2 separate regions of the Homo sapiens genome follow, and region 1 is linked to region 2. Evidence: promoter capture Hi-C in 16 types of primary human blood cells and fetal thymus (Javierre and others, 2016). All regions are on one chromosome and are shown on one strand. The core of a region is centred on a gene start or on the middle of the fragment in contact, and the rest is flanking DNA. Distances in the headings are between cores, read along the strand shown.

What was found. The method cuts DNA at HindIII sites, captures the fragments that hold promoters and counts their contacts. A CHiCAGO score of 5 or more calls a contact.
Region 1: a fragment that was not itself captured here is called in contact with the fragment with the promoter of SNPH in region 2 in 1 of 17 cell types (naive CD8 T cells); the score reaches 5.1 in naive CD8 T cells.

Annotation. Positions count from the first base shown.
Region 1 is chr20:1,457,981-1,463,876 of GRCh38, forward strand. NSFL1C (NSFL1 cofactor) reads right to left here. Exons shown (of 9, transcript NM_016143.5): 3 at 220-294. Among named protein-coding and RNA genes, the nearest start is that of NSFL1C, 5.9 kb to the right of the region's middle. The HindIII fragment of the contact is 1,220 bases long and covers 3,864-5,083 here.
Region 2 is chr20:1,261,863-1,267,575 of GRCh38, forward strand. It overlaps SNPH (syntaphilin), which reads left to right and starts at 4,432. Exons shown (of 7, transcript NM_001318234.2): 1 at 4,432-4,535; 2 at 4,792-4,898. RefSeq lists an enhancer at 4,118-4,267 and silencers at 4,668-4,747, 4,848-4,927. The HindIII fragment of the contact is 11,249 bases long and covers 1-5,216 here.

The DNA of each region.
Region 1 (5,896 bases), core at 3,224-5,723, 200 kb after region 2:
TAATATTCCTCAATAAATACATTAAGTAACGGAACAGGGGTCACTTCTAAGCTACAAGGAGTAGAAGAGACTTCCTAAGATATAACCCACACAGACCAGCCCACAGTAGTAATGGCTAACAATAACCAAACATGTTTACCAGGTCCTGTTCTAGGTGATTTACACATTACCCTGGACTTCCCTGTGAACTGTCCCCCTGACCCCCTCTAGAAGACTCACCTCTGGCCTTCCTCTTCCTCCTCATCTTCATCTTGGTCATGAATGAGGTCTCTGAAGGATGTCACTCTATTATCACTGGAGACACAGAAAGGAGCAAAATGATCTCAGGGAGCATTAAGAAAGGTAACCCTCATCACCAGCTGCTAAGGAGGTGAAGACACTGAGGTTACATTTTTGGTAGGCGAGAGGAGGACGTTATGTGGAGAAAGGTTAATCCCCTAAGATTACACATAAAATAATGTGGCATTTATTTTTTCAAGATCACACAGATTGAGTATAAATTAGAAAGTCCTATCATGAGGTAAAATGGAATCCCAATTTAAGCTGCCCTGGCTTTAATAAAAACTAGAAAGTATTTATTAATATTTAGGAAAAAAAGCAGTGTTGTGTGGGGTGGGCACAACTAAAAATGAGTACAGACTTAAGTAGTACAGACAGCGGGGAGTAACAGGGAAACTAAGAAAGGCTTCCCAGAAAAATGAAATATTTGGACCAACTGCCAAAGAACTAGTGGACAATCATGGTGATGGGGCTGCTGGGGAAAAGGGGTTGGTGTAGCATTATAGGAAAGCAGCATACACAGTGCACAGAGACCAGAGAGTTGAAGGAAGGACACATAGCCAAGAAGTAGGAATGAATGAATACGAGGGTGACAGCACTGGAGGAAAAGCAAGCTCCAGTGTACTTCTGCTGCAGGTTAGTCAAGAAGTATTTATTTTTAGAAAAAAAGCAGTGTTGTATGGGATGGGCACAACTAAAAATGAGCGTGAGAAGGGTTAATTCTCTCTGAAATTATCTTCCACTGCCACTTTCCACCTAGTTTAGATCTGTCCTCAAGGAACAAGCTTAAGTTTTTCAAGGATCATAAGACAAGTTTTATCAAGATTTAAAAAAATTCTGTATTTCTTAGGGGAAAAAAGCAGCTTCCATATAATATGGGACAAAGAGGGTGACATGGTTTGGCTCTGTGTCCCCACCCAAATCTCATGTTGAATTGTAATTCCCAGTGTTGGAGGAGGGACCTGGATCATGCAGGTGGATTTCCCTCATGCTGTTCTCATGATAGTGAGTGAGCTCTCACAAGATATGATCGTTTTAAAATGTCTGGCACTTCCCCCTTCACACATGCTTTCTCCTGCCACCATGTGAAGATGTGCTTGCTTCCCCTTCGCCTTCTACCATGATTGTAAGTTTCCTAAGGCCTTCCAGCTATGCTTCCTGTACAGCTGTGGAAATGTGAGTCAATTAAATCTCTTTTCTTCATAAATTACCTAGTCTCAGGTAGTTTTTTATAGCAGTGTGAGAAAAGACTAACAGAGAGTAATACAGGTTTAGTGAGGCTTTAATGAGCTGTTTACTAGGAAGAAAGCTCCAGTTCAGTCTTGAAGATTTATTTCAAGGAGACAATCAGGGGACAGAAGAGTTTTGAGGATCCATCAACTAGAAGTGAGAAGACAAAAACCAATCAATGTAGCAAACAAGCTCCCTGCATGAGTTGGCTCCTGAGAACAGTCTGCCGGGCATTCCTTGATGCTTGATATGACATGGTTCAAAAGGATCCAAGTGATGAGATCTGTACTAGTACCCTGAGAGTACTAGTTCCACTCATTCATCTTCCCAAAGGGAATTTTCCATACATGCTCAGCCTAAAGTTTCTTCCAATGACTAGGCTAGGATGAGCATCTATGAAAAAAATATTTTCTATCTCCCTGTTGTTAAACTTTCAAATATATGTGTGTACACTTGCTTGGGCAAATCACTTGCTCTGCTATGGCTTTGTTTCTTTCCCCCAAAACTCATACACCCAGACTCTGATGGTATCCGACATTGATTCTGGTATCCATGTACCAGATTCCAATCCCAATTCTGCCTCCTACCCTTGGGATCTTGGACATGCTATTTAAATTCTCAAAGCCTTCATTTTCTCACATGTAAATAAGACAATCACAGCACCAACCTATGGGCTTTCTGTGTGCAGGTGGGGTACTGATGCACGGAAAGTCTTTTGCATGGTGTGGCACATTTAAGTACTACTCTTGAGTAGCAGTTCTCAAAGTGTGGTCATGGACCAGGAGCATCAGCATTACAGTGAACCTGTCAGAAATGCAAATCCCCAGGCCCCCTCTTAATTCTCCTGAATCAGAGCCTCTGGAAGGGGTATCCAGCAATCTAGCCTTAAGGAGCCCCTGAGGTAATTCCGACATATATTCAAGTTCAGAACCACTGTCTGGAGTAATGCTTTCAGTTACCTTATGGCATGGATGTCCTAGGGATATTAGCAATTGCACAATACTTTTGTCCTATGGTCTCTACAAATTGGCTAAATATCTCAGAAAGTTCAATTTTTCAATATTAGAACTATCTCCCAGGCTACTCTGGCATACTGAAGTGGCACAAAACTCCTTCATCAGATGACATTTTCTGCTTTTAATCCGGTTACCCTAGCTCTGCCTCTCTGTGATGATGGAAATGCTCTATCTGCACTGTCCAACAGAGAAGCCACTAGCCACATTTGGCTATTAAGCATCTGAAATGTGGTTAGAGAAAACGAGTAACAATGTTTGTTTAATTTCAATTAATTTAAATAGCTAGTAGCTACCTTGTTGGATCGTGTAATTTTAGAGAATCAGACAATCGTAGTTCCCGGAAGTTTAAAGTACAACTTTTGCTGGATGAAAGAGGGGAAAAAAGGAAGAAACTGTTACCTCTTGCTTGACCCTGCATACAGGGGTGGGAGGTGCTGGCAGGGAGGTAGCATGTGGCAGCAGAAGCAGCTTTGGACTTAGGCAGACTTCGCCTTGAATCTGTGGTAACAGCAGCTGTAAGTTACTTGACCTTTCTAAGAATTAGCATCCTGACCAGCGAAATGGTAAGCACCTTACCTATTTCAAAGCTGTTGAACAGTATCAGAAGAGAACACAGGTGAGAAACATGGCAGAGCTTTGGTGACTGCTCCTGAAATACTAGCCGTCCCACTTCCAGGAATTTACAATTTACTTGGGGAGAAAAATTAAGTTAAATATCAGGAAAAGAGTTCAGGGCAATGTGGGAGAGATGCCACCCAGTAGTACATGGATATAGTCAAAGAACTGAAGGAGTGATAGTTGTGACTGGAGTTCTGTGGAACAGAATTATGGCGTGCAGCCTGGTCACAGGGTTAGCAATAACACGCTCAGCAGAGTGGGGATGGAGGTAAACATGGAAGGATGCATGGGATTTGTATAGGCAGAAAGCAAGAGAGCGGGCACACCTGATCAGGTGAGAGGCTCAAACAAAAGCAGGAGAACCAAAAATAAGGAAGAATTAGAGCACCAAAGAAATCAGTTTGGTTGGAACAAAGGATTTAAGAAATGAGGAAAAGGGAATCAGATTAGGAAGGTGGGTCCAAGGGTAAACTCTGGAGGACTTTGAATGTCCACAAGAAGAGGCAGAACATTGTTGGGGCTGAGAGCTGAAATGCTGAATGTAGAAAACAGCCCTACACTTAAATCCTTGTTTTACTAGCTCTGTGATCTTGGAAAGATACCCAACTTCAGTGTCCTCATCTGTAAAATAGGAATAGTACTAACCTCAGTGCTAACAGTACTAACAACAGTACTAACCTCACAGGGTTGCTGTGAGGACTAAAAAGATGTTCATGTAAAAGCTTAACTCAGTGCCTCACTCGTAAATACTCAATAAATGGCAGCTGTTATTACTGAGTTTAAACTGTCTCCTATAGCAATGGTTAACATTTTTATGTCTGTCAGCCCTTTGAGAATCTCATAAAAGCCATGGACTCTCTTGCCACAAAAGATACCTGCTAACATGTACACAAACTTTTGCCTGTAATTTCAGGTATTAATAGAGACCTTCTCACGCTCATTTCATAGATTCCTCCTAGGGTTCTCGGGCTCCATATTAAGAATCCTTATTCTAGAGTTGGGTGTTGCTCTGAGGCAGCAGTGACAACATAAAAGGGTATGTGAGAAGTCAAAAGTGGGGGATGGGAGAGGGCAGCAGCTGGCTAAGTGTCCTGCAACTGCCAGGTCAAAGCAGAGGCAGGCCCCACACAGAATTCCTCTGAGGTGCTAGCACAAGTTTGGTTTTTCCTGAGAATGTAGTCCTAGCATTTGCTTTCCTCCTCAACAAGGACAAACCATGCAACACACTGCGCCCTCCTCCCTCCCTTTTTCTTGTCTTCAGTTCTTTTCTAAGCCTACTACCAAGTCTGAGCCTTAACCAGAGCAATAAAGCAATGCCTCTTGGACCAAATGTGCGTCCAGTCTTTTTACTCACTTCAGTTCTAATGTTAAACTCTATGTCCTTGATTCTTTTACTTTTATGCCTTTTTTTTTTTTGAGACAGAGTCTTGCTCTGTCGCCCAGGCTGGAGTGCAGTGGCGCAATCTCGACTCACTGCAAGCTCCGCCCCCCGGGTTCACGCCATTCTCCTGCCTCAGCCTCCCGGGTAGCTGGGATGACAGGCTCCTGCCACCACACCTGGCTAATTTTTTTTGTATTTTTAGTAGAGACGGGGTTTCACCATGTTAGCCAGGATGGTCTCAATCTCCTGACCTCGTGATCCACCAGTCTCGGCCTCCCAAAGTGCTGGGATTACAGGTGTGAGCCACCGCGCCTGGCCACTTTTATGCCTATTCTTAAATGTACATACTTGTTGGGGAATAGAGTAAACAAAACAGGTCAATTGAGAATGAATGCTAAAAATGATAATACTAAAATTATAATAACAACACATGCTGTGTTCTATTTGCTTTGTAAGTATTAACTCATTCAGTCTCCCATGTGGTAGGCACTATCATTACCATTTGACAGGCGAGGAAAATGAGGAACTGAAACGTTAAGTAACCTGCCCAAGGTCACAAAGCTTTTACTTAAGTGGCAGAGCTGGGATTTGAACCAACGCAGTCAGGCTCCTGGGCCCATGCTAATAAACCACTGCCTTAATAGAACTTTGGGATTACTGGAGAAAAGAAAGGAGTAAACATGTAACTGGCATTAGAGACTAAGTTTAAATCTCTCCCCCTCTATAATTCTGACATGCCAACATCCCAACAACACCCTAAGGTGGCTGTCAAAGACTCATACCCCAGAAAATCAGCCATCTCTACTAGCAGCTGCAAGAACAGCACTTACCCTAACAACATGTCCCAAGCAGTAATACCCAGATGTGCCATCACCAACATCTCATAGGTTAGCACGTGCAAACAGTTACAAGATCACTTTCCTCCTACCTCTTTTCTCTGGATGGGAGTTAGGGAAAGAAGAAAGCAATGAGATCTGGGGTTAGTGCTCCTTCTTCGAAGGGAGGAAATATATTTTAAACCTCAGTTGCCTTTAGAGAGAAACATAATTTACCACTTCATGGCAAAGAAACACTGTTGGTTATATTCTGGGGTTGAATTCAAACCCAAATAAAATTTCCTGGCTAAAACATACACTAGAGAGTAGAAGCAATAAGGCGAAAGCAGAGAGGGGAGACACCTCTGCTTACACACTCTCTGTAAAGGTTCAGACACCTTTACAGGAAGCACCCCTGCCTGTCTCCTGGAAGACCAGCATTGTCTCACTCTGCAGAGCACAGGAGTAATCTGCTGTGGGTGCTGTGGGAGGCAGCGACAGGGGATGCAAATGGGATTGCAAAGGTTAACACTGTTTTACCTAGTAAGACAAGGTCT
Region 2 (5,713 bases), core at 3,182-5,681:
CTCACTGCAACCTCTCCCTCCTGGATTCAAGCAATTCCCATGCCTCAGCCTCCTGAGTAGCTGAGATTACAGGTATACAACCACCCCACTCAGCTAATTTTTGTATTTTTAGTACAGACCAAGTTTTATATTTTTAATAGAGACCTGTTGGACAGGCTCATCTTGAACTCCTGGCCTCAAGTGATCCACCCACCTCTACCTCCCAAAGTGCCAGGATTACAGGCATGAGCCAGTGCACCCGGCCTATGGTGTTTTTTTTTTTTTTTTTTTACTATATTTTTTGTCATAGATTTTAAAAATAGCTATTCTAGGGGTTACAAAATACATACTTAACTTTTCATGCTCTACTTAGAATTGATATTTTACCACTTCAAGAGGAGTGTAAAAATCTTACACCATATAGGTCCCTTTATATTGTAAAGGAATATACATACTCCTCCTTTATATTGTACTAGTCTTATCTACACACATTGAACCCCCATCAACAATTGTTGCTTTCCACTGTCAAACATGTTTTAAAAGATCAAGAGAAGAATAGCCTATTACATTTACTCAAATATTTACCATTTTTGTTCTCCTTCCTTCTTGATGTTCCAAATTTCTTTCTAATGTAATGTCCCTTTTGTCTGAAGAACTTAATTCAGTAGTTCTTTTAGAGCAAGTGTGCTGGCAATGGATTATCTTCATTTTCCTTAATTGGAGAATGTGTTTATTTCACTTTCATTTCTGAAGGATATTTTTGCTGGGTACAAAATCCTGGTTGACAACTCTTTTCTTTAAGCAATTAAAAAAAATTGTTCTGTTTTCTTCTGCCCTCCATGGTTTCTGATAAGAAATCAACAGTTATTTAAATTATTATTCCTGTATTTTTTTTTTTTTTTTGACACAGGATCTTGCTCTGTCACCCAGGCTACAGTGCAGTGGTACAGTCAGTCATAGCTCACTGCAACCTCGACCTCCCGGGCTCCAGCAATCCTCCCACCTCAGTCTCCCGAGTAGCTGGGACTACAGGCAAACGCCACTACACACAGCTGATTTTTGTATTTTTTATAGAGGTGGGGTCTCGCCGTGTTGCCCAAGCTGGTCTCAAACTCCTGGGCTCAAGCAATCTGCCTCTTGGCCTCCCAAAGTGCAGGGATTACAAGTGTGAGCCACTGCATCCAGCCTATTCCTGTATTATTAATGCATCATTTTTCTCTGACTGCTTTAAAGATCTTGTTTTGTTTTTAATTTTCAGCAGTAACTGAAAACTATTATTATTATCATTATCATCATTTGATTTATTCTCTCTGGGGTTCACCAGAATGCTGGAGTTTGGAGCTTTATTTACTCTGTTCCACTTTGCTGCCTACTTTCCACAGTTGAACTTGCATCTGGGACCAGGAGGTAGGAGGACAGTGACAAAAAAACAACAACAGGGGCTCACCCTCCCTCAGGACTACAGCTACTTTTATTGAAGAAGTTTCTCCTCCCTCAGAGTTTTAGGCACCTGTGGGTTCCTGCTGTCACAGACACCACTGCAGGATGGCCTAGGGCCTGGGTCATGAGACAATGGAGAAAAGATTTGAAAGGAAAAGAACAATGATATCTCCCACATACTCTGCGCATCAGAAGTCCCTTTTCCTGATCTTCAAGTCAAAACTAGGGAGATTCTTTGGGAGCTTTCTCTTTATTGAGCCCCAATTCCAGATTTTGATCTGCCTTGAGACCAGGACAGGAGTTATAGGAAGAAATAAAGATGATAAATTCACCACTAGTTCAGTGGTAGGGTATATCAAATTCTGGCTTCTTCCCCAGTGTGCCTGCTAGTATTTTGTCTTCAGAATCCTCAAATAGCTGCTACATGCATTTTGTTCAGGTTTTATTGCTGCATTCTGTGGGAGAGTATGCTTAGCCAGAATTGGAATACAATTGTTTTTGAAACTAAAAAAATTTTTAATGTATTTTCAACTAGTCCAAAACAAAACAAAATTACTAATTTATTAGGAATAATTTTGTTTTATACTTATAATCCTCATTTGTTGCAATTTACATTATAACTAAACACCAGTTCTCTTCTCAATCATCTGCTTCCTGATGATAAAGAGAATACTTTACTAGCTAACACCATTCCAGATGGGAGTAATGTGAGTGAAGTCACTGTCTTGCTTTGGGGAAGTTCCTTGTGGAGATTTCTGGGAAATGTAGTCTTCTAAGTACCAAGCAAAAAAAAAAAAAAACCCAAAAAAACCCCCACACAAAACCCCACACACATACACACATGAGGATGGGACAGCCAGGCATGGTGGCTCAAGCCTGTAATCCCAGCACTTTGGGAGGCTGAGGATTGCTTAAGCCCAGGAGTTGGAGACCAGCCTGGGCGACATAGTAAAGCCCCATCTCTATTAATAAACAAAACAGCATGGGAACAGACAAAAAAATATTTTAATGACAATCTCAGAAATGTTCTCCTTCTAAACATGTAATAATTACATGGCTTCCTTTGGTTTCACTTTTAAGTGTAAAAATGTCACTTATATAATTTCAGTGAGCATTAGAGCAGATAAAACATTTTATCAATTAACTTGCTAATATAGCATTAGGTGTTTTGGACAGAAGACCTCAACATTTCACATGGCTTTTTCAACTAGTTTCCTATTCCTGCTAAATTGCTCTGCCATGTTTTTCTAGAAAACATAATATAATAATGGCTATCTGATAGGATATGGTTTAACGGAATACAGGAGAAAATAGAATCAATGTCCTCTCCAAAATTTATTAGCATTTGTTGCAAAAAAAGTAATGGATTTATTGCAGCTCAGAGATACAGGAAAAGATTTGACTGTGAAAAGCAACAGTAAACTTAAAATAATTATTTTTTCATGTACATTATCAATATTAACTGTTTCTCACCAGGCCAGTACTGCAGAGTCATGATGTAAATCAGTGAAGTCACTTTACAAATTCTTCTCTTGGAAAAGTCAGCTTGGGGCAGAGAGTAGAGGGTACCAAGTTCAGCACCGGCGAGAGTAAACAGACTTAAGGACTTAAGAGCCTTAAGAGACTTAAGACAAAAGGACTTCCAGGATGGCATCTGGCCTAGTGTTCCCATAGAAGACTGGGGCCTGGCACAATGTGTGCTTGCTTTCTCATTCACTTAGTCAATATTTATTGAGCTCCTACTATGTGTTAGGCACTGCTCTGGGCACTGGAAATACAGCAAGGGAAAAAAACAAAGTTCCTTCCCTCATGAAGTGTACATTCTAGTGGGAGTGATAAATGACACATAGTAAATATACACTATGTCAGCTGGTAATTAAGTGTAGCAAAACTAGGGGCAAAGGAGGTGGAGAGGAGGGAGTTAGTATTTTATGTAGAATGGTTAAGGAAGCCCTCTCTGAGACAGTAACATTTGAGCAGAGACCTGGAGGAAAGGAAGGATTGAACCATGTGGCTCTCTGGTGTGTTCTAGGCAAAGGGGACAGCAAATGCAAAGGCCCAGCAGTGAGGCCTCAGCAAGAAGGACAGCTTGATGGGAGAAAAGTGAGTGATGGGGAGAGCCACGCAAGATGAAGTCAGAGAGCTGGAGTAAGATGAGGGCATGTGGCGGAGAGCGATACAGAAAACCACTGGATGGTTTAGAGCAGAGTAATGACAGATCAGACAGGCCTGGTTCAGAAAGAAGGAGCCCATTCCCACTCCACCTACTTCCCACACATGAAGCAGATAAGAAACCAAGCCCAGAAAGTGAGTTAACTTATCTAAAGTTGTATGGCTAGAAATGGAAGGGCTAGGCAGAAAATCCAGTTTTTTGGACTTTTTGGTCTTCTTGTTTTCCCTGTGACAGATGGAAGACAGAGGGAAAAGAGCCACAATTAACATTTTAAGTTGTGATTGTTTATCTCTCCGAGATCTTTCCAATGATTCACCTTTTTACTACTTAAGAGGAAAACATTTCCATTTTCAGACACTTAAGATTCCTGCTATCATTGTTAGTAGCCCAAGTGCTTGTCATTCACATTAAATACCCCTGGTACTCAGACTTGGTTTGGGCAATGAAAAATGTTCCTAAAGGCTTTTAGATAAAAATTACTATTTCACTAGAGCCAACTATGTGCCAGGGAGTGAGACTGGTATCATCACCCCATGTTAGAGAAGAAAAAGCTGAGGCCCAGAGAGGTGAAGGGACTTGCACAGGGTCACACAGCCGACCAAGACGCTTTCCACCACGCCCAATCGATCGCCCAGCTCAAAATACCGGCTGGTGTGTAGGTGGGAGAGGCCGCCGCTCCCCGTGTGCTCGTTGTCTCTGTTCCCAGGCCCTCTAGAGCAAGATACTAACTATCTCTTTAAGAAGGAAAGTAAAGACGGGCCGCTTACGCAGCTGCCGGCGAGCCGCCGACTGGCTGGTCCCCTCCATCCACCTCACCCTCCCCGCCCCTCCCTCCCGGCAGCCCCAGCCCCGGCGAGCACCCAGCTAGCCGCCTCCTGCAGGGGCTCGGGAGAGCAATTCGGCGGCCCCTGCAGGGCAGCTGAAGCCATGGAAGCCTCCGCAGGTGATGACAAGGACCCCGGGGATCTCCGGGCCCACCGCCCAGCTGCACCCGCCGCAGTCCAGAGTGCCGAGTGCCAGGGGGTGGGGTGGGGGCCGCGGGCCGCGAGGAGGAGGGGACGGAGCACCCGGCAGGCAGCCTGCCCTCCAAGCCTTCTGGCTGCAGCGGCCCAGCTGTCAGCGGCCGGGGGCTCAGCTGCCTGGGTGTTCCCCGCCCGCGCTCACCCGCCCCGGTCTATCTCTTTTTCCTAACCCCGCAGGTCGCTGATCAGGGCCAGGCGGCTGCAGCAGCGACTGCAGAGGCGCTGCGCCAAGCCGGGCCGGAGTGGTGCGAGCCGGCGGGGCTGCGGAGGGCCAGTGGACTCAGGTGAGGAGGCCGCGGCGGAGCGGGGAGCTGGCCCTGCGCTGCACCGCGGCAGGTGGGGGCCGCTTGCAACCGCTCGCTGCGGTAGAATCCCTTGGAGGGCACCAGCCTAAGAGGGGTTAATCGTGACTCATTCTTACCCTCCCTTCATTCCCCTACATCCCTTTAAGCGCTTCCCTCCCTCCCCCTCCCTGAAATGTAAGAATTAGAGGGTGCTGATTGCAGCAGAGAAGATGCCCAAAGTGGGTGATTAGGAGGCTTTTAGGGAACCCACCCCCCAATTTTATTTGTCTTCCCCTTCTGGCATTTGGCAAACATTTAAGCTTCTCTTTTCCTTCTTGGAGGAGGAGCAGGGGTACCTGGGGGTGGGAGAAGGATGAGACCCCACCCCCACCCCAAGGTCAAGTGCCAATGACTGCTTCCATCCCATCTTTCCCTCTGAGAAGCATCAGGGCCCTGCAGTAGATCTGGGGAAAAAATGCCCATAAGTCCTAGAGTGGACGATCTGAGCCTCCGTCTCCCCGGAGCTTCCCTGGGATGTGAAGCCTTCCACTCCCCAGCCGGGATCTGGGCTGTTTGCAACACCTACTAGCCTGGGGAGCCCCATATTCCCTTCCCCAACCCTGCAGACTGAAAGAGAGGCCGGTCACATGCTGCCCGTTTCCTCTGCCTTCTCTGCCCATCTGGTGGTGTCGGGATGGGCTGGAGGAGCTTCTTAGAAAAAGGTGATCTCTGCAGGCAGAGTCGTGTAAGGAAAGTGCCAGAGATTGGGGTTCTAGGCCCTTAACTTGCTAGTTGGCCACAAGTAGCCATTTTAA